Linked DNA regions of Homo sapiens: all the other regions are linked to region 1. Evidence: promoter capture Hi-C in 16 types of primary human blood cells and fetal thymus (Javierre and others, 2016). All regions are on one chromosome and are shown on one strand. The core of a region is centred on a gene start or on the middle of the fragment in contact, and the rest is flanking DNA. Distances in the headings are between cores, read along the strand shown. Region 1 holds the start of SPRY2 (sprouty RTK signaling antagonist 2). Region 2 has its middle 29 kb from the start of LINC01038. Region 3 has its middle 170 kb from the start of LINC00377. Region 4 has its middle 20 kb from the start of LINC00382. Region 5 has its middle 3.3 kb from the start of LINC00382. Region 6 overlaps LINC00382 (long intergenic non-protein coding RNA 382). Region 7 has its middle 230 kb from the start of LINC00377.

What was found. Contacts are between HindIII fragments. The CHiCAGO score rates a contact against its expected background, and 5 or more counts as called.
Region 2: a contact is called between a fragment that was not itself captured here and the fragment with the promoter of SPRY2 in region 1, in 1 of 17 cell types (M1 macrophages). The highest score is 5.5, in M1 macrophages.
Region 3: a fragment that was not itself captured here is called in contact with the fragment with the promoter of SPRY2 in region 1 in 2 of 17 cell types (total B cells and naive B cells); the score reaches 5.6 in total B cells.
Region 4: a fragment that was not itself captured here is called in contact with the fragment with the promoter of SPRY2 in region 1 in 4 of 17 cell types (M0 macrophages, M1 macrophages, monocytes and 1 more); the score reaches 8.1 in M0 macrophages.
Region 5: a fragment that was not itself captured here is called in contact with the fragment with the promoter of SPRY2 in region 1 in 6 of 17 cell types (monocytes, neutrophils, M0 macrophages and 3 more); the score reaches 10.2 in monocytes.
Region 6: a contact is called between a fragment that was not itself captured here and the fragment with the promoter of SPRY2 in region 1, in 5 of 17 cell types (M1 macrophages, M0 macrophages, endothelial precursors and 2 more). The highest score is 5.7, in M1 macrophages.
Region 7: a contact is called between a fragment that was not itself captured here and the fragment with the promoter of SPRY2 in region 1, in 1 of 17 cell types (naive B cells). The highest score is 6.2, in naive B cells.

The regions. Positions count from the first base shown.
Region 1 is chr13:80,339,702-80,342,677 of GRCh38, forward strand. SPRY2 (sprouty RTK signaling antagonist 2) reads right to left here and starts at 1,425. Exons shown (of 2, transcript NM_005842.4): 1 at 921-1,425. RefSeq lists silencers at 1,373-1,562, 1,793-1,842. The HindIII fragment of the contact is 9,098 bases long and covers 1-2,976 here.
Region 2 is chr13:79,831,922-79,834,897 of GRCh38, forward strand. No RefSeq gene overlaps it. Among named protein-coding and RNA genes, the nearest start is that of LINC01038, 29 kb to the left of the region's middle. The HindIII fragment of the contact is 1,388 bases long and covers 681-2,068 here.
Region 3 is chr13:80,842,030-80,845,005 of GRCh38, forward strand. No RefSeq gene overlaps it. Among named protein-coding and RNA genes, the nearest start is that of LINC00377, 170 kb to the right of the region's middle. The HindIII fragment of the contact is 1,788 bases long and covers 627-2,414 here.
Region 4 is chr13:79,851,003-79,853,978 of GRCh38, forward strand. No RefSeq gene overlaps it. Among named protein-coding and RNA genes, the nearest start is that of LINC00382, 20 kb to the right of the region's middle. The HindIII fragment of the contact is 2,133 bases long and covers 326-2,458 here.
Region 5 is chr13:79,867,782-79,870,757 of GRCh38, forward strand. No RefSeq gene overlaps it. Among named protein-coding and RNA genes, the nearest start is that of LINC00382, 3.3 kb to the right of the region's middle. The HindIII fragment of the contact is 2,686 bases long and covers 58-2,743 here.
Region 6 is chr13:79,895,435-79,898,410 of GRCh38, forward strand. All of the region lies in intron 1 of LINC00382 (long intergenic non-protein coding RNA 382), which reads left to right. Among named protein-coding and RNA genes, the nearest start is that of LINC00382, 24 kb to the left of the region's middle. The HindIII fragment of the contact is 2,831 bases long and covers 32-2,862 here.
Region 7 is chr13:80,784,394-80,787,369 of GRCh38, forward strand. No RefSeq gene overlaps it. Among named protein-coding and RNA genes, the nearest start is that of LINC00377, 230 kb to the right of the region's middle. The HindIII fragment of the contact is 2,893 bases long and covers 1-2,860 here.

The DNA of each region.
Region 1 (2,976 bases), core at 175-2,674:
GTGATCAGACTGAGGATTAGGGGAAAAGAACTTCAGCTCTAGGGTGGGGCAAACGGACACAGAAACTGCTTTGTAAAAAACACACAAGAATCCAAATTAAAACACAGCAACAACAACAACAAAAGGAAATAAAAAATTGCCTATTTTGCCACCTACTTTCAGGTAATGGAAAATGATCGCGACCGCTTGATGACTTTCTTCCTGCGCTGGGTCAGCCCGAGCTTCCAAAAATAAAATAAGTGTGACCCAGGCTGACCACGAAGAACGGAAGAGAGAGAGCTGCACTTCCGAACCGCAGAGACCCGGCGCCAGGCAGGGCGACGCTCCCACCCGCTCCGGGCTAGACTGTCCACACGGAGCAGAGGCGGGCACTCCCTCCACCCGGCACCCTGCCTTTTTCTCACCCTGGAAGTCTCCTGCCCCCGAGGCGGGCAACCTGTGTCCCCCAGCCCCACCAGCGCCCCGCCTAGGGACAGCCTCTCCCTGGACTTTGCCTTCCACCAAGAGGAAGAACAGGTTAGAAATGCGGGCGCCTGCAAAGGCAACCTGGAAAATACAAAGTGTTTTTCTCTCCCTCTCCCGCTCTCAGCGCCGAATTCGCGGCCAGTGCACGGCTGGGAGCAGACTTCAGGCTAGCTGTCCTCCGTCCCAACCCCCTAGAGCGCGGGCGCGCGGGGTCGCCTGTCGGGGACACTGCACGGGGTGCATACAGAAGTCCCCGCAGAGGCAGGCCGAGCCCAAGCCCCGGGCGAGGCAGGTCCGCGGGGAGCGCCCCGGATCCTCGCGAAGACCCTGCGGGATTTGAGAAAGGGAGGCTCGGGGAGAGACGGACCCAACTCCTGGTCCGGCTGCACCTACTCCATGTTGCCCACAACGCGCCGGCCGCGGCGCCAGGAGGGGAAGAGCCAAACGTGCCTCACCGTGATCGCGGCTTTGCACCAACCCCTCTCCCTTGGATTCTCTTCTTTCTGCGATGTGCAAATAAATCCAGTCTCGATGCAAACTTTTTTCCTTTCTTTCCAACCTCTGCTTTAGACCAACTTCCGAGCAATCGGCGGGAGAAAAAAAGAGAATTCGGAGCCAGATTCCCCGCTGATGAACACTCCGGGGTTCGGAGCTGGAGACGACTCCCCTTCTACAAGCGCACGCGGAGTATTTCCTCTTTTTTCTCAATGAACAAGAGGCCGAAGCGCCAACGGCAAGTCCCTTTTCCTGGCAGATGAGCGAATGGGAAAAGAAAACGGCCTTACGGAGAACCTAAAGCCAGATCGCCAAGTGGTGCGGCCGGGGCCGCGTCGTAGCGGAGGCGGCGCGGGGGCGCGGGCCGGGCCGGGCCGGGCGGGCGCGGGGGCCTGGGCGCTGCGCGCTCCGCCGGCCCCTCTCCTCCGCTAGCGCTGCGGCGCGCAGCTCTCGGCGGTGCAGACTGGGCGTTGTGGAGGCGAGGCAGCGAGGCCGAGGCGGGGGCGGTGGGTGCGGAGGAGGAGGAAGAGGAGGAGGAGGAGGAGGAGGAGGGTCTGGGGCCCGCCCGGGGGGGGCTCGCCGTTGGCCTGCGCCCTCGCCTTTCCGGAGGAGGCAGGGAGCTCTGCGGCGGCCGCGGCAGCAGTAAATGGCGTCATGTGGATCCGAGGCGGAACAGAGCAGTTGTTGTCCCAGAGGATATATCGCATCCGGTCCCAGCTCATTGGCTCCGCGGGGCTACATTCACTCACACTCCAGCGCCCGCCAGCGCTCCGAGCCGCAGGAGGCATTCAAAAGGGCAACCGCGCCGCCCCGCGCGTCCCCAGGCCGGTCCTGCCGCCCGAGCGCCGTCACGCGGGGCGCCCGCGGGGCCGGGCTGGGCACTGCAGGGTCAGTTTATCTAGTTTCAAGGAAACACTGACCTTAAGGTTTGCCCAGAGGCAATGAGGACGAGCCAGAGGCTCGAGCTGACTTAGGGAACTTTCTCCTTGCCACCAGGAAAGGGGAATGAACATTTAAGACTAATCTGGGCCACGCAGTGTTAGCATGAAAAACAAGTTGCAGGTTTTAAGACTTTATCCAGAATCCATTTCAAGTCTACCTCTCCCCTTTTCTGTTCCCCTTTGCGGAGCGGGTGACGGGGGCTGGGGCGGGGGGAGAAGAAGGGGGAGGGGAAGGGGAGCGGGAAGTGAGGTGGGAGGGCTATTGGTTTATTCTTTGTCTACTGGATTAACCCGATTATACACCAGGCACCAGCACAAACCGCCTCCCCCACCTCCGAGCCTTGTACGGGAGGAACGGAATGCAGATTCGAGTTTCAAGTACCTTCTGCTCTTGCTGGGATTTGCTTTTGATTGTGTCGACTTGTAGTTTTTCCGTTTATTAGAATTTCATTTTTAAGGGGGGTTATCTATGAATGGAGGCTTTTTGAAGAGCTTCCTTACTATTTTGCTTCATGCAGTAGCTAAAGTCTACAGTCTAAGCCTTTTAACTTAATTCATTAATAGACAGGAACAAGATTACTCAGGGCGACAGCATGGGCTTCCGAAATGGGGGGGCGGGGGGGAGGGAAGGGTTGGCTCACTGCAGATTTCCTTCTTCCCTTAACTAAAAGTCATCCTTCATTTCCCACTTTTCTTGCCACCTAGAACATTTCTCAAGATTCTGTTGTCCATGTTGAAGGTGCACTATTCTTTCCCATTTACAAAAAAAAAATAAAGATAGAAAATGCATACATATGCACTGTCCTAGCTGCCGTTCATTTACTAAGAAATGTGCCTTCACGTGGGAGCACCAGTGGAAAATTAAAACTTGCGCATACACACGCCTAATATTGCATTCTGTCGAGCGACTTACAGAATGCTTTTACTTTACAGGGAAGTACCTGCTTGTACGGTCAAAATTCCCGAATAGCACCTGCGATCTTGCCCCATGCGGGGTGTTCTTGAAAGCAGTGTTAGGAAAACATGGTGCTTCACTCGTCCAGCTTTAACCCAATCCATTTGCAGCTACCCTGGA
Region 2 (2,976 bases), core at 125-2,624, 510 kb before region 1:
CTATTCCCATCTGTTGTTGGTGAAAGTTACGTCTTTGAAATCTCTACCCTTAAGAGTCTAACAATACATTTCTATAAGTATATTACCAACCCATATCAAACTGACGGGGTGTCTTGTCCTTTATCTTGACTAATTTATAAAGAAGCATGAATGTGAGGGAGAAGGGTGTAAAGGTCAACCATGTTGAGTTGTATATTGGATGTTGTTGTATGTATGAAGAGTTGCAAAATAAAAATTAAGATGGTGTCCTCCGAATGTTGGACAACTTTGACCATCTGGGTCACCTAAATATAGATGTTATACTGCTAGTCTCTATGGGCTATGTATAGAGTTTTCAGTGTTGTTTCATGTGATGACAATCACTTTAAAGTTTGGCAGCTGAGTCTGCTAATAGGATGGGTTCTCTGTACAATGTAAACTTCTGGTACCTTTGGCTCAGAATTCCAGTCACCTGCCTGCTCACCTGTTTTCTCCTGTTAACATTCACTGAAGCCAAGCAATTGTAAAATTCTTCTGTTAAGACCTGTTGGAAACCCATGCCAACAATGGTAAGGTCAACTCAAAAGTATGGATAAGTTACAATTGTTAAAGAATAAAGCCCATCTACACTGGCTTGGACCAAACTTTTATGCTCGCCTCAGTCCATTAAATGGAAGAGTGCTCTGTCCTGCATTTATTCAAGCTTCCTCCACGCACTCAGTGTAATCCTGATTACTATTTTGTGATGGGATAGCCCATCTCCTTCTGGAAACTTTCTAGACAAGTGGATTTAGGGGCTGAAATTACACTCATACTTATGTTGGGGTCTTCTTCTTTCAGGGTGGGCTGTACTCAGGTGTAAAGATGTCAGTATTGATAGTGTAGGGCACTATTTAGCCATTTTATAATGTATACCTATTTCAAAATGTTGTAAACCATAAATATATACAATTTCTATTTGTTAATTAAAAAAGAAACAATTTAAATATACACATGCACAAAAGAAATACATAAAAATAGAAATAAAAGTTAAGAGAAACTATGGAAAGCTAGAGAAATGCTTCATTTTCCTCATGTTAAAAATTGTAATTATATATACTATAAAACATATATAATTCCTTTACATAATTATAACATCATTATTTATATAATTATATATAAAGGAATATACCAATAAATATATTTTATATACAGTTATATCACACACACACACAAACACACACACATATCAATACACCAATAAAAGAAAAACATCCTATCAGAAAAAAGCAAAATAAAACCCAGCAGACACCAAAGAAAAATGCAATACATAGACGGGGTCAGTGTTTTCTCTTATTGGTTAATTTCAGAATAGCATATTCACATATGTGTATGTGTATATATACATATGTGTGTGTCTGTGTGTATATTTGATACAGTACTATACTTACTAAATATATATAATTATATTTTTCATATATATGATTATACCAATATGAGAAAAATACCCTGTCAGAAAAAAATAAAATAAAAACCAGCAGGACCCCAATTGAAACGTAGCACAAATGAGTGGTCAGTGTATCTCGCTGGCCTTACACAAATAAAAGATTCTATGATAAATTCACAGATAATCTGATAATAAAAAGTACTCTCAATGAGGCAATCAGTGACTCCTTCTGCCATTCCTTCCCTAATTACTTTCGAAACTTAGTTATTATGAAAGATAAATTAGTTTTTTAATTTTTTTTTCAATTGATGGCTTTATAAAGAAAGCTCTTTGTTTAGCCGTCACTTCCTAAGACAAGATTCGGTATGGATCCGGTGGCAGTGAAGACCGTCCCTATATCTCCCCAGCAATGGAAGTATTATGGGGACTTCTTTATAGTAGAGGAGTAAGGCGGAATTCTGGAGTATTCTGGGGAGCCAGCTAGGGTGGCTATCTGAACCACAAGTGTGATGTTAAAAATAGAAAAATAAAAAGTAAACTTACTGTTTTAGCCAGTGAGATTTAGGGTTAATTTTTTTTCTTTATTGCGACCTAACCTAGATAAGCCTGACTACTTCAAATTCTTAATGAATAATGGAACCCAAAGTAAAGAGGAGAGAAAAAAGCTTGCAATACACATTTATTACTTGTTTTTCCTAAAGAGGGCTGGATATTATGGTAGATTACTAGGCATTTAAAAGAAGGCCCTACCTTTATTTGTTTACTTGAAACACTGGTCCATTGCACGTTTTTGCAGAGGAATGACCAAATTAAAAACACAACAGAGAAAAGCAGATGTTGAGGGCCCCAAGGGGATCATGTTATGTTACTTCATTTTCTAACTGAGTTTATTTTTCTGTTGCTGAATCTGGAGAAATCTGGGCAGATGTTTCCAAAAGGAGAAAAATAGATAAATATCCAGACATCTCAGCAAAGCAGGAAGCCAGGAAATCTAAAGAAGCCTTCAGCCTTCAGATAAATGGGAAAAGGTTGAATCCTCTGGAAGTGAGCTGGTGCATGTGTGAGTTGGGGGTGACTCTGGCTCTGACCCTGTGCCCCCTGGCATCACAGGTGGTGAGAAAAGCACAAAGGCAACTTGGATGAGATGTGGCTTGGAGCACTTTACAGGGGCCAGATTGTAAATTTATCCATTTAGGAGTGTCCTGCAGGGGTTCCCACCAGCTCTGTGGACAAAGCTAAAGCTGGAAGGAACAAAACCTGTCCATAAAAGTTCCTGTTATTGCCACTGTTTATTAAAGAGAGGTAATAAACAAATGTATTATGTGCTGTTTCCTACTCTAGATGCATTTCTACCTTTTTGACCCAAAGTGTGTACACATGTATGCAGTTATGATGGCCCAGATTTTATTCCTAGAGCCTCCTGTTTTTTTTTTTTTTTCTAGTGACAGTACACCTATTGGATGTACACAGGCCTCTGAATACTCTCCCAGCTCTTAAATATATCATTCTGTGATTAGAAGAGACCTCAAGCCTTTTTTGCCAGGAATTCAAAGCAGATGTTGCTCATTATT
Region 3 (2,976 bases), core at 271-2,770, 500 kb after region 1:
ATGGTGTGGTTTAGGGATACAGATAGGCATTTAGAGCAACGATTATAATGCGAATCATGAGGCTGCTTTTTGTGAAAAGCTTTTGAGAAAGGTTTTAGTAATATAAAGAAAGGAGAGATGGTTTGTGATTGTCATTGAACTTATTATTAAGGATACGTAAGATAGATTTTGATAGGTAGGTATAAGAACAAAAAGCAATCCAGGTAGACAGCATCTCAGTATCATAGGCAGCAAGCAAGAAAGTGAAGAGAATTTTCATGAAGTAATTGAGACTGCTCTGAGTAGTAGCCCATGTTATATTCAAAGAAACATGAATTGAGGGGGAAAAAGTTGCAGGAAACCAAAGAATGGTCAATTGAGGCCATGTTAGGCATCTCTGCAATACATAGTTAAGGAGCAGGAACAGCATTCTGCAGTCAGTGATGGACAGTGAAAGATTTATGAGGAACTGAGTCATGTAATAAGGTATATTTCTTTATTTTTAAAGCTTTTTATTGAAGCATGATTGATATATAAAATGCTGTCGATATTTCATATATATATACAACTTGATATGTTTGAAAATAAGTAAGCACCTGTGAAACACTGCCACAATAAATGTAATAAATGTACCCATTACCTCCAAAAGCTTCCTTCGGTCTGCCCCTCACTTTCAGTTGAGTTTTTTTTTCTTTTTTGGTAAGAGCACTTAAGATGAGATTTATCCCCTTAGTAAATGTTAAGTATACAATACTTAAGCCAGAGGTTAATCATAGGTCCTACATTGTACAGTATATCTTCCGAACTTACTTATCTTGCTTATCTGAAATGTTATAACCTTTGATCAACACCTTCTCATTTCCACCTACCTCAGTGCCTGGCAACCACCATTCTACTCTCTGCTTCTATGAGTCTGGCTATTTTAAAATTCCACATATGACTGAGATAATGCAGAATTTGTCTTTCTATTCCTGGCATAATGTCCACGAGGTCCATCTCTGTTAAATAATTGATCCTATTTAACGAAAAAGATTCTGAATGAAGGAAAAAGAAGCGAGATGGTCTAGTCATCTTGTCACTTCTCTTTCTGGCAATAAAGCAAACCTGGTACCTGACTGACTTTCCCACTAACAGCAACGCAAAAGCTGGTGTATGTGTGTGTGTGTGTGTGTGTGTGTGTGTGTGTGTGCACGTGCATGTGTATCAGAGATACGAAATCTGTTTATCTTTCATCACTGATGGGACAAGACAGAACTAATCCCACAGAGAATAAAAATGAAATGAAGAATATCTAGAAGCTATAAAACCATCCAAGTTTGCTTTTGCATTCATAGTTACTGAAAAAAAAAGCCTAAATAACTCGAATTTCTGCTCTGACAGATGTTTGGGATGAGAGTAGGGAGATAAAGTCTATGAAGGCTGAGGAGACCAAATAAGAGACTCCTCATATAAAGCTGGAAAATGATTTTTATTGGCATTATGAAGATGAAAGGGAATAAAACTAAGCAGAAAGTTACAGCAAAACCAAACAAATAATGTAACAGCTAAAACCTCTGTTAAACTTGGCATTTGGAGGAAAGAAAAACAGTCAACCTCACTTCATGTTGTGTTAATACAGGTATCTCTATGGTAAGAAAAACTTAGTCACTCAAGAGATTTTAGGTTGGTGGTTTCTTCTTGCAACAAGTGGTCCTAACTTTAAGAAAATATTTCTAACATCTAAAAAATTTTTAAAAATAATTTTACTCCCAAATCAGGCATAACTTTGATAAAATGACCAGGGCAGTTTAAGAAAAAAAGATCTTTCTTATAAAAAAAGTCTTAAGCCAAATAATATCAAAGAAAAGTAGCACAGTCTAAAAAAATAATGATTCAGAATGAGCCAGTTGCGTTTACCCCATAAATGAAAGCATGAATTAATGCAGGAGATACTTTGTTATTACAAAGGTTGGGTATTCACTGATTTATGTATGTGTGCATTCCTTCATATCAGTGTCTATATCCATACAAATATTATATAGACATTGAGTACCTCTTACCTTTAAGATACTGTGTGAAATATTTTATCATATATAAAAATGGATGATTGGACTCTATACTAAAAGATGTTATATAATCTAGTAGCAGGAAAAAAATTGATTAGTGTAACTCATCATGCATGTTAAGGGTATTTATTGTTTCATGATAATTAATTTCTCCATATTCCATATATAATATATAGATATATAGATATAGATATATGTGCAATTTTTATCTAAACATAGGCATTCCAAGAAGTACATTTTTTAAAAAATGTGGGCATGTGCTTTCCAAGAATAGTACACTACATTCCCCAGACTTGTTTGCAAATACATACTGCCATGGGACTAAATTCTGGCCAAAAGGCTGTGAAACAGAATGATGTATGTAACTGTTAGTTCTCTTAAATGGTAAGAAGCTTACCTGATTTCATTCTGTTTTCAATTTATGCTTATAGAAATGTTGAAATTATGTATAATGCCCTTAGAAACAATATAAATATGAAGCCACAACAACGCAGAAGGAGTCTGGAGCACATTCTGTATAAGACTTGCACTCTTCATACTGGCCTATTAAATAAAAGTAAACTTTGATCTTGAACCCATTCTTACTTGAGATTCTTTTATCGTTGTTGAATCTATATCCTAATATGCCATATTAAAGGAAAATCCATACAATAATTTCAGTAGATAAAGAAAAATTATTTAGAATGTTTCACTAAAAAATTATCAAATTGGGAATGGAAGAAAATTTTATATCCCAGTAAAAGGCATAAAAGCGTCTGCAACATCCATGATCATATTATAATTAAGATGAAATGATGTTAGCATCCTCATTAAGAATTTGATGGATTAAAGATCATCATAAATTGTTAGTCATCCTTCCTATTAAGAGCTGGTTCTTTCTTGCCTTGAATCTCGTTAGGCTCTGTGAAGAATATGCCAGAAGTGATGCCGCACCAGCTTCTGAGCCTAGGCC
Region 4 (2,976 bases), core at 142-2,641, 490 kb before region 1:
TTAGCTGTTATCATAACTATGATGTGAGTGTTAGCTGTGTGTATTACCTGAAGAAATGTGGGCAGTACTCTGTGTTCCAGAGAATTAGAGCTCCTGGAAAGTGGTGGACCTAAAGAGTGCTGGTTGTTTAATTGATACCGACCTCAATGGAATTGTTTGGTTTGTATTCTTGGCCCTGACTCAACATTTTTGCTAATAATTTGCATTATGATAAAGGAGGTTAAGTGCTTACCAAACTTACAGCTAAAGAAAATTGAGGCAGAATAAGTAAGCTGACTGTTACGGCTGTAATGTAAAAAGAACTAAAAATTGAAAAGATGGCCCAAGCTTTATAAAATGCATTTTAATAAATCTAAATGTGAAGGCTTACATTTAGATTCCAAAAATTAGCCATATATTTCTAGGGTAAAGGACACCTGATTCAGAAATAACTCATAAAATTATGAATAAAACATCTTATGAGTCACTATAAAGAAAGGATTCTAAAAGCTAATGCAATCTTAGGCTAATGAATAGAACTAAATAATCATCTCCTTACACCATGCTCTGGTCTGGTCAGACCCTGGGGGAACACTGCATTTGGTTCCAGGTCATGTGGATCAGAAGGGACATGAGCATGCTGTTACTCTATGGAGACTGTAAGGAAAGTAGAAGCCAAGACAGTTGATCAATAGTTGAAAGAATGTTGGATAACTGGTCTGGGAAAGAGTAATCCTCAAAGATTTAGGATATCTATTGTAAAATATCTCGAAATACTGAATGTCAGGGAATACCGATTCAATATTTTTGCATAGCACCTCAAAGGGAAAAAGTAGTATACAAATGTGAAAACTGCAGTGAGCTAGATTTAATTTAACCATTAGGAAACACGTGGTAGAACATTGGAATGTCTACGAGTGGGAAGTGTTGTCTTGTAGAGCAGTGAGCTTCCTGTCAAGAGAAGTGTCTGTGTATGGGCAGAAAGACATCAGTGTTGGAGAACAGATTGTGTTAGATAGCATCTAGGGTTCTCTCCATGTTAAAATCCTTTGGATTTTAACCCAGTAGCCCTCACTGTCTGCTGAATCCATTGTGAATAAGGAGACAAATTTGAACATGATCAGTTATGAGCCAATTACTTAGTAGTGAAGGGAGAAATTCAGCCAAACAAAGCATGGAGCCCTGGAGATGCAACTCGCCACAGTAATAAGTAAGGGTTCAAAACAAAATCAAAAGGAGGCCCCACATAAAAACACCCTTCAGCCGAGCACAGTGGCTCACGCCTGTAATCCCAGTACTTTGGGAGTCTGAGGCGGGCAGATCACGAGGTCAAGAGATCGAGACCATCCTGGCCAACATGGTGAAACCCCGTCTCTACTAAAAATACAGAAATTAGCTGGGCGTTCTGGTGCTTGCCTGTAGTTCCAGCTACTCGGGAGGCTGAGGCAGGAGAATCGCTTGAACCCGGGAGACGGAGGTGCAGTGAGCAGAGATCCTGCCATTGCACTCCAGCCTGGTGACAGAGCGAGACTCTGTCTCAAAAAAAAAAAAAAAAAAACACCCTTCAAACGAAAAACATCTCAAGGATCTTGTTTAAGATTTGAGTAAAGAAATAAATCAGGGATGGTGGGGGGTAGGTAAGAAGGTGAATAGTTTGCAGTGAGTCATGAAACAAGGTCCAGAATAAGTAGATGGAATCAGTGTTAAGAGTACATTTAGGCCGGGTGCGGTAGCTCACACCTGTAATCCTAGCACTTTGGGAGGCCAAGGTGGGTGGATCACGAGGTAGGGAGTTTGAGACCAGCCTGGCCAACATGGTGAAACCCCATCTCTACTAAAAATACAAAAATTAACCAGGTGTGGTGGCAGGTGCCTGTAATCCCAGCTACTCGGGAGGCGGAGGCAGGAGAATTGTTTGAACCCGGGAGGCAGAGGTTTCAGTGGGCCGAGATCATGGCACTGCACTCCAGCCTGGGTGACAAGAGCAAGACTCCGTCTCAAAAAAAAAAAAAAAGTACATTTAAGGAGAAAAACAATCAACCTATACAGTATTCAGATATGGAAAGTGAGGAATGCCAGTGGAGCATAACAATTAGAAAAGTCAGAATTATTCTTCCTGAAGGAAACCAGCCTGTGCTCAGCCTACCCAGAGGAATGGAGCTTGGAGGACTTCTATTTGATTCCTTTTGGAAGAGTACCTTGAGGTGTGCCTTTTTCCTCCTTTTACCTGCCAGAGGTATAGACATTGTGCAGTTCTAGCTGAAAGACACATGCTGCTAGACATTCAAAGGGAGGAGAAAATAAAGCCAGCTCAAAAGAAAGAGTAGTTAAAAAAATTGTTTGAAGGAATAATTCCTTCCTATACTCTGCAAGAAAGGGATATTTTCGGAGACAAGAGTTTCCTAACAAAGGTGAATTAGCAAGGAGGATGCCAAGAGCAATGATCTAAGCAGCAAATAATTTGGAGACTGGTTTAAGAAGCTTGGGTTGAAGGATAATCCTCAGCTGATGCCAGTGCTAGGGAGTTCATTAATAAGAAGGGAAAGGGGACAAGTGGAATAGATAAAATCTACTTACAAGAAAGCATAGTTAATAGACAAAATAAAACAAGGCAGGTGTGTAATGGAAGTAGAAGCAATTAACTTTGAAATGGCAGGATTTGTCAGGGGAAAGGTAAGCAGACTGAATAATTTTGTTTGGAACAGGAAAAAAGGAAGGTGATAGAAAGACTGATAATTACAGAGTGAGAAGAATGTTCTTTTTCAGGATACAAAAGATTATTAGGAGACCTGGGTAAAGAAAGATGGCTCTGAAACAAACATGTGAAATAAAATCTTAAAATTCAGGATGATGGATGAGAGTTGCAAAGTCAATAGTGCAAGTTTATTGACTACCTACAATGTCACAGACACTATGCACTGATAAAGATGGCTTTTACTTAAGAAGCTCATAGTCTAGGTGAGAATAATAATAGTGTTTGTTGAGAGCTTCCTACGT
Region 5 (2,976 bases), core at 151-2,650, 470 kb before region 1:
TGGACTTAGAGAGTCTAAGAACCTTGCCTAAAGAGATAGCAATCAATATCAGAGCTAAGCTTTAAGTAAACCCTAGATAATCTGAGTTTTTTTCTGAATAAGATGGCATCTCTGAAATCTTACTGTATATAAATTGTTACAGGCATTGTGTCTTGAATAACTAATGATTTTTGTCATGACAAAGAATTAGACAATAACTGGGTACTTTCAACAAGAAAGATGTAAGGATTCTTCTTGTTGTTTGTTTTTATGGCTATGCTGAATTTGGGATTTTCTTCTTATAAAATTATTTTTGTAATTATACAGATAAAAGACCATATCATAAAATGAGAAAAAGACATGAAGATGCTTTAAAATTAAAAGAAGTCTATTGTTATTAGTACTGTACTTTAGGTTTAGATAATATAAGTATCAACAGAAAAATAAAAACATACTGGAAATTCAATATAACGTGTTATTGTTTTTGTTGTTTTCTATTGTTTATCTAAGAGAAGATACATCAGGCTTCACAAATCAGGGGTTTTCTGGAGATATCAAAAATCATCCCCCAAAATGATAATGATGTGAGGTGATGAATACGTTAATTTGCTTTACTTAATCATTGCACTGTATATAAATGAACATTACATTGTGTGCCATGCATCTATACAATTTTCACTTGTCAATTAAAAATAAATTTAAAAAAAGACCTTTCTTCAGATATTATTAGTGAGGTGGTCCCTCCTCATGACTCTTAAGGAAAATTAAGGACAAAACAAGCAAATATAACAACATTTCCAATAGAAACCTGAGAATGTGGTTCATATGCCCCCAAATCTCTCTATAATTCTAGCCAAATACTTTTTTTCCGGTTATCTCTCTTCAAACTTTATGTTTAATAAAGAAAATTTATCTTTTTTTTCCTCCTTTTTTCTTTGGTTTTTGGTGTCTTAAATAATGCCAGACAATTCGGTTTGTTCTAGCAGTCACTTGATTCAACAGCTGTGATAATGAATAAAAAAAAGAACAGTGTAGGTAAATGAACTTACAAAAATGTCAAATTTATTAGATTGGACAAATCACTGACCTACATTTCAAGTCCTGAAGATTAAAGTTGTACTCTGGTGTGAGGTCATGAAACTCTCAAGTTAAAGGTATAAGAGACTTTTTTTTTCCCAACAAGTAAACAAAAACATTTTTTCTCACCTTGCTCAGGGTAAGATTTTATTTCTGTTATTAATGCTAAGCTATTTCTATTATATATAATATATATAATATAAATATAGTATATAATATTTCTATAATAGCTTAGGTACTTTTGACTTAATGAAAGATTCGGAAACAAAACTTATTTTGGATTTATTTTTGCCTGACATGAATCATTTCTTATTTTTTCCTGTAGTTGGAATTCACTTCATGAAATGTGTTAGTCTGCTTATTTCTGAGGAGGCTTGTGTTAAAATGGAACCAAACATGCTATGTGTTGATACGCTCCAAATATTCATTACCAGGTACACACAGGTACTCAGGCTCGCTCCACGAGACTGTTAATTTCACTAGTTGAGGGAATTTTAATCTCCGAGATTGACCTCTTTCAGAAACAAAGGGGGAGGGAGATAGAGAAAGAAAAAGTACACACCTGCAACCTATTTCTTTTTGAAGCAAAGCCTTTGAGCAGATGGAAGATGAGATAGAGAGAGAAAACAGGCCAATTGCCAAGAGAGGTTTGTTTACAATACAGGCAAGTTCCTTCAGAAGTTGATAGAGAGCTGTTGTCATGGAAATGAAGGGAAATATTGCTGCAGGGTTCCACAGAACAAATTCCTACTACAAATATACCTGGATTTAAAGGTGACGGAGATGGGAAGGGGGGCAAAGAGCTTCCTGAAAAAGTTTTAAGTAATGCTTTTCTGCATATCTTTGAGGTGTTCCTCAGAACCTGAGAATTCCTTGCCTTGTGGTATGCAAAATAGGCAATCAAAATAAACGTTGCCGTTCTTTCTGTATTACATGGAATTCCTAACAAGAATAAGAGAATTAGTGTTCAAGTGAGAAGTCAACAGTACATGTATCTCAATTCTGGAACATTGACTATTGTTTAAAAGACTTCTGAGAAGTACACTATTATTGTTAAAAACATACCAAAAAGATGTTTTTTTTTAAAATCCCTACTGCAGTAACACAGGTAAAGTGCCTACACCATAAGGTACTACAAAACACTGTTTTCAGTGTACAAATATCAACCTTTAACAAATTAAATAGAATCTATTCCCCCGCCTTGCCCTCCACAAAAACAAAAACAACCCCTCAATTTATAATTTATTGCCTGCTTCAAAATCTAGTCTTTGCTTTAACTTTGACCACTATGACTTTCTACTGTTTTTAAAAGAAAATCTTTTCACAAATTAGTTTTTTGAAATGTAAATTGTTTTGTGGACAAAAGTTAGTCCTGCAAATCTTCAGCTTTACAAATTCCTTATTAGGAAGTGCTTAGTAAGCTATTTTCTGGCTTTTCTCCTTTCTCCAACAGTTCCAGCAGAGGATGATGTCATTTTTCCCTTTTCCTGTTCCACCTCCCACCCTTTTATCCCACTAAGTTTCTTGTTAGGCTTTAATTGAACACAGCAACACCTGTGTTTCTTTACTGGACTTCAAACTACTATTTCCAATCCATTTCTTCAGCTGCTTACAGGGTTGTTTTCATTAACAACAGATAATTAGCAACTTCACACAGATTGAGGAAAACAATCTAGAAGCCTATAGAAGCTTCTGTGGCCTGTTGCTCATATTAAATTAAGTGTAGATGCTAATGATCAAGACTTGACATTGTTTATTAGATATTGTAGCACAGGGTTATAAAAAAAAAAAGCAGGAAGAAACCAAGTTGGGAAATTGGATTTCTCTTGTTGACTCTGGCATTAACTAGCTGGATAACTCAGACAACTGGCCTAACCTACTCTAGTTTTACATTTCTTAACTCCATCAATCACGTGTTGA
Region 6 (2,976 bases), core at 197-2,696, 440 kb before region 1:
GAGATAGCTTGTTTCTGCTTCACCTGTCGGAAGCTTCAGCTTGGGAAGATTTGAAATACGGGGCATAAATCAAACCGTGAGAGGCTACATTCATCTGGAGGCTTCTTCACTTACATGTCTGGCACCCGGGCTGACATGACCTAAAGGCTGGGCTCAGATAGTTTTATCAAACAGAGCTCTGACACATGGGCTGTCCATGTGGCTCGAGCTTACTCTCAGCATGGTAGCCTCTGGGTAGCTGACCTTATGAATGTGCATTCCAGCAAAAAAGATGGCAGCTGCATGGCCTTTTGTGACCTAACCTTGGAAATCACTTCTGCTATATTGGTCAACACTGGCACAAGGCCACTAAGATGCAAGCGGAGAAGAACAGATTTGATTTCTTGATGAGAAGTTTGTCGTGGAATTCTGGTCTTGCCTTGAAAGTGCACCAGAAGGCATAGGTTTTCTCTGAATCAGCTTCATTCAGGTGTCATGGATAGCACTCAGATTGTTTACTCCATGATTCTTTGGTGACTCTATTTCAATGTGCATAGACCCTTTTCATTCTATGTGAGATGAACACTTTACTGACACAAGAGAGATAATGAAAGACTAAATTTTGCTGAGTGCTGACTGATTATATGTTTTGTCCTTATCCCCACTAAACTCATATTAGCATTACATACACCTAATCTATTCTGGGACTAGTGGCGTCTTTGAACCCCTTGGACATGTTTCTTTCCAGGGTCACTGAGCTTTTGAAGACTGCATTAGTCTGTTTTCACATTACTATAAAGAAATACATGAGACAGCATAATTTATAAAGAAAAGAGGTTTAATTGGGTCATGGTTCTGAGGCTGCAGCATGATGCTGGCATCTGCTCAGCTTCTAGGTAGGCCTCAGCAAACTTACAGTCATGGTGGAAGACAGAGGGAGCAGGCATGGCACAGGGCCAGAGCAGGAGAAAGAGAGTGAGAGGGGAGGGGCTACACACTTTTAAACAACTGGATCTCATGAGAACTCACTATCACAAGGACAGCAACAAGGGGATGGTACTAAACCATTCATGCGAAATCTGCCCCCATGATCCAGTCACCTCCCACCAGGTCCCATCTTCAACACTGGGGATTACATTTCAATATGAGATTTGAATGGGGACACACATCCAAATCATATCAGAGAGGATCTGACTTGATTGGATCAGTTTCCTCAAAGACTCTCTGTCTCCAACCAGATAACTGTATCAGACCACCATCCATGAGGAAAGATTCTCAGAGATTCTCTCACAGAGCCCTTGTCCATTATTGAGAACAAAAAAATTAGGATCCAGAGGATGAAAAAGAACTCAAATTTGTGCTTCTGTAATAAGCGTGGATTAACATAAGAATAGCAGATTTATGCATACCTAAAGTGTCAAATGCTTTATGAGAAGATGTGGGGCCTTCTAAGGAAGAGGATAAAGTTTTTGTCCTTGAAGGAACTTACCATCTTATGCAAAAGGTAGAAAAGTACATGCATCTTCTCAAGAATGTGCAGCCACTGCAGAAATATGTAAAATTAAACACACCATGGAAACATACAACTAGGTATAACCATACTTAATAGCTGAGCTGGAATGCATGAACAATTAGAGCGAGGTGGTATTAACAACAAGGAGTGCTCAGTAGTGAAGGTGCTCTTAAGGGGAGGAAATGGATTCCATAAAGATGAGATAAAGAAGGCATAGTAAGAAGGAAACCCGGAGGTCTCCCTAGGTTTCAGAGAGGTTGAGATAGTTTGAGTTCTACTTTCAGAGAGGTGTGCTTTTTGACTACATTGAAATTTTGATTCTAATTCTAGCTGCCTAGAAATATATTCCACCTAATATATTTCCTCCTACCAACTCTCTCCTCCATCCAGCTACCAAGATCATAGATTTCATGACAGCAAGCCCCCTGCATCACTAGCCTTGGTGTCTTCTGCATAATCTAGAATAATACTTTAGTGGAGGATGTGACAGGTACATTTTAATGGAATTGAATTACCTTGAGCAGACTTAGCCCTTGATACCTCATGACCAGCCCACACCTTGTTAGATGTCTATTTCCTGTGTTCCTAGGACTTCCCTGGGATTATTTTATTAGTAATAATATTATTGTAGTTTTTGAGACAGGGTCTCACTCTGTCATTCAGGCTGGAGTGCAGTGTTGCGATCTCAGCTCACTGAAACCTCCAGCTCCTGGGTTCAAGAGAATCTCGTGCCTCAGCCTCCCAAATATCTGGGACTACAGGCGTGCACCACCATGCCCAGATAATTTTTGTACTTTTAGTCGAGACAAGGTTTCTCCACATTGGCCAGGCAGGCAGGTCTCCAATTCCTAAACTCAAGTGATCTGCCTGCCTTGGCCTCCCGAAGTGCTGGGATTACAGGCATGAGCCACCATGCCTTGTCACTCTGGGGTTATTCTTGCATCTGCTTTATAATCAGAACTCTTTCCATAAAACGATGCTGTTCCTTTGGCAACCTACACAGCTGATTTCATTGAGCAGTCATATTATGCTAGTTATACTCTATTACTCTTTTGGGCATACCAGTTTTTGTTGAATGAGCTCAGGGCCTAAGCCAAATGTAAAATGTGTGTGTGTATATATATATACACATATATTTGCATGCATGTATGTGTGTATATATAAGTATATACAGATATGTAGATATCTGTTTTCAAATACTCTTAGAAAGAAAGGCCCCATCTAGATTTCATAATTATTTCTCCCTCTCCACACTTAACACATTTTTGTTTTTAGCATTTCCTTTTCTCATTTCCTGTTGACATAGTTCTAGGTTTCAAGGCTTATTTATTCTCCTTGTGCATGTACATTTCATACATTTCTAATCTGAAAGCTTCTGTCATTCTCAAGGAGGCAAAGCTAATGAAAACTCACATCATCATGGTGCACAGGCAGAACTAGCCCACAGAAGCCCTGCTTGTTGGTCAAAGCTGGTCCAAGACTCC
Region 7 (2,976 bases), core at 164-2,663, 440 kb after region 1:
CATCAAATGTTTACTGGGTGGGGGATCAGCCTGTGTTTTTTTTAATGCAGTAGCAAGAATGTTTTGTGTGTTCTGAAAGAACCTATGAGGCCTTTCAATGTAGAAGGGAGGAAGAATGGTTCATCATGAGTTCAGGGAAATTTTGGAGTCTCTTATAATATCACATCCTCAAATTTGGGAATATTTTTTCTTTATAAAGCATGTTGAAAAATTATTTCATGGCTGCTAGTTCCCAATGTCAGACTGTTTGTGACAAAATTGTTAAAATAGCATTGCTATGGGTATAAAAAAATTTCACAAGCATTTTGTAATGTGCCATGGGATTTATAATAAGTTTTAACATATATGATTTCCTATTTTATCCACTCAAGGAAAAAATTATGTTGTTGGATATTTTTAATAGGTTCATTAGCTTTAAAAATCAAAATAAGGAAAATATTCTTGGTAATGGGAAAATGTTGTTTAATGACATTCACTTACTTAAAACATGTTAATTGCTATAAGCATATCAAGAATCAAAGTATAATTTCTGGTGTGGTTTTCAGGACTCTTATGAAGTCCCAAACTCACTCTTGTCAAACAGTATAATTCATCCTAAAATATCCAAATATTCTAGCATCTCATCTACTGTTCTCTCTGTCTGAAATGCCCTTTCCTATCAATTTTCTGTATTACAGTTCTAACCACTACCAAAGATACTTTCTAAAAACTAAGTTTAAAAAGAGTTAAGTTTTTAAAATCTTCCTTAGCTAATTGGTTCTTTCCAATCCTCCCCTCCAGAAATAATCACATTTTAACTATTTGATGGTTTGAATAGCATTTGCATATCATTTTTGACAATGTAGTTTGAAACTGCAGTGATATCTATCTCTTATTGAACATGCACTGCTTTCAGACTCTGCTAGATGGGCTACTATCCCTACAGTTTTTTTGAGACTACTATAATATTATCATTTCCATTTACAAATAAGGAAACAAAGTTCAGGAAACATTAATAAATTTGCTCAAGGTTACTTAATACTCATTGGTGAAACGCATTTGAATCCAAATGTACCTGACTAAAAAGCCTTTTTTTTTTTTCTGTTCTAGTTTTGTGGATGTTTTTTTGTGGATATGCACTGATAGCAGGGCCTGATCTTAATCCTTCTAGATTTCAACTCACCTACTTCTGCACTGAACTTTACTGCACTAAATTGAATCTGTAAAATTCCAGCCTAGTTTATTAGAAAAATGGAATAAAACTACCATTGGTTCTATTTAGACAGTTGTCTCAGATTCCACCACTTTTACATATGAAATAATAATTCTAATATATATAGATGAAATGCATATGGATTTTATGTATGCATGTGTAGGTGTGTGGTATTACAATCCACAGATTATTTAAGACAGAAGATAATTTATGTTAAATACCTGTCACTCACATTTTCTCAAATTTACTGAATTCTTAATGTTAATTTTGGTGGTTAAAAGAAGTCATAATTTTTACCTGTTCAATGTTCTTTATTTTATTTTGGTACTATTTGGTTAGTTGCTTTTTCTGAGAATTTCTTTAATTTTTAAAATTTGTCATGAATTAATTTATAGAAGGTAGGTGTGATTTATTTGCCATGAGCATTGAACTTTGTTTCTTGAAAACAAATAACACTAAGATCTTTGAGAACCTACACGTATTTATGGAAACTATGAGGGTGGTGGGAGTAGCTTAGAAACAATGACAACTATAGCCTTTGAACCAAAGAAATATTTTTAAATTTTCTCTATTCAACGTCTGTGCCAGCATGTGTTGCCTCTTAGGCAATAAACAATTATGGTTACGTAGACACCTAACACATTATTTATCCTGTTAAAGTTTGATTTAAAAATCTGTGGCTATACCAATTTCAATGTAATTTAGGTATATATATATGTAATTTACAGTATATATATGTGTGTGCATGTGTCTTTGTGTGTACATCTTTAAGAAAAAAGTTATTAACTTAATTGTGCAAAATCCATACTGTTTTGGTTCCTCTCTTCTTTAAAATGTGATAAAACTTACATAGGTCATCAACGTTGAGCATTCTTACAAGTATAAATTTATAACAGTGTCATTTGGTAATAAAATTCTTAAGTATAAGATGCAGTCTATGCCATAAAAACATCTACAGTCTATTTGTGTATTTATGTGATTATTGAAAGAGATAAAACAACACTTCCCCTGGCTCCAGTCTTTCTTGTTTCCAAACCATCCTTTATTGTCAATTAGAGGAATTTTTCTAAAACACAAACATTAATATAATCTATTCCTGCTTGAAGTTCTTCATGAACTCCATGACTTCTATGATAAAGTTCAGATTTGTTGGTTTAGCAATCCATATTATTCTTGACACAGTTCCTGCCCACTTCTCTAGCCTTAACATCATCCTAAATACACCCTTGATGACAAGACATACTTCCTTTGGTTTCCTGAATTCAACAAATTATTTGGGGAAATCTGGAGACATTTAGTGAAGGAAGTGATGTTTAAAATGGCTCTTAAAGGAGATCCGGAGACTGACAAGTGGAGCAAGGGGCAGTGGGTGCAGGTGTGCCTGGTATGAGGTGTTGAGCATTAGGACTGAGGGCTGGTACGAGCAGAGGGGAAGATATTGGTAGTAAAGGGAAGAGAGAGAGTTTCTTAGAAGAGTAAATGGATTGTGAGCTAGTACCTGGATGAGGGGGAGGGGCATTGTGTTCTAACTCACAGATTGCCAGAACCCATTTAGAGTTGGAAGGGGCCTCAGAAATCAAAAAAAGGGGATGAAGAATAAGAAGAGAAGAAACGAGAAGGAGGAGAATAGAAAGAAGTAAAATAATAATAAGGAGAAGAAACAAAGTAAGCTTAATCCTTTAATAGAATTCACCTTTACAATTTCATTTCATATTAACATTATTTCAGCAAAAATATGTTTCTGTTAATATGAAATTCACCTAACTTTATTATACTTTTGGATA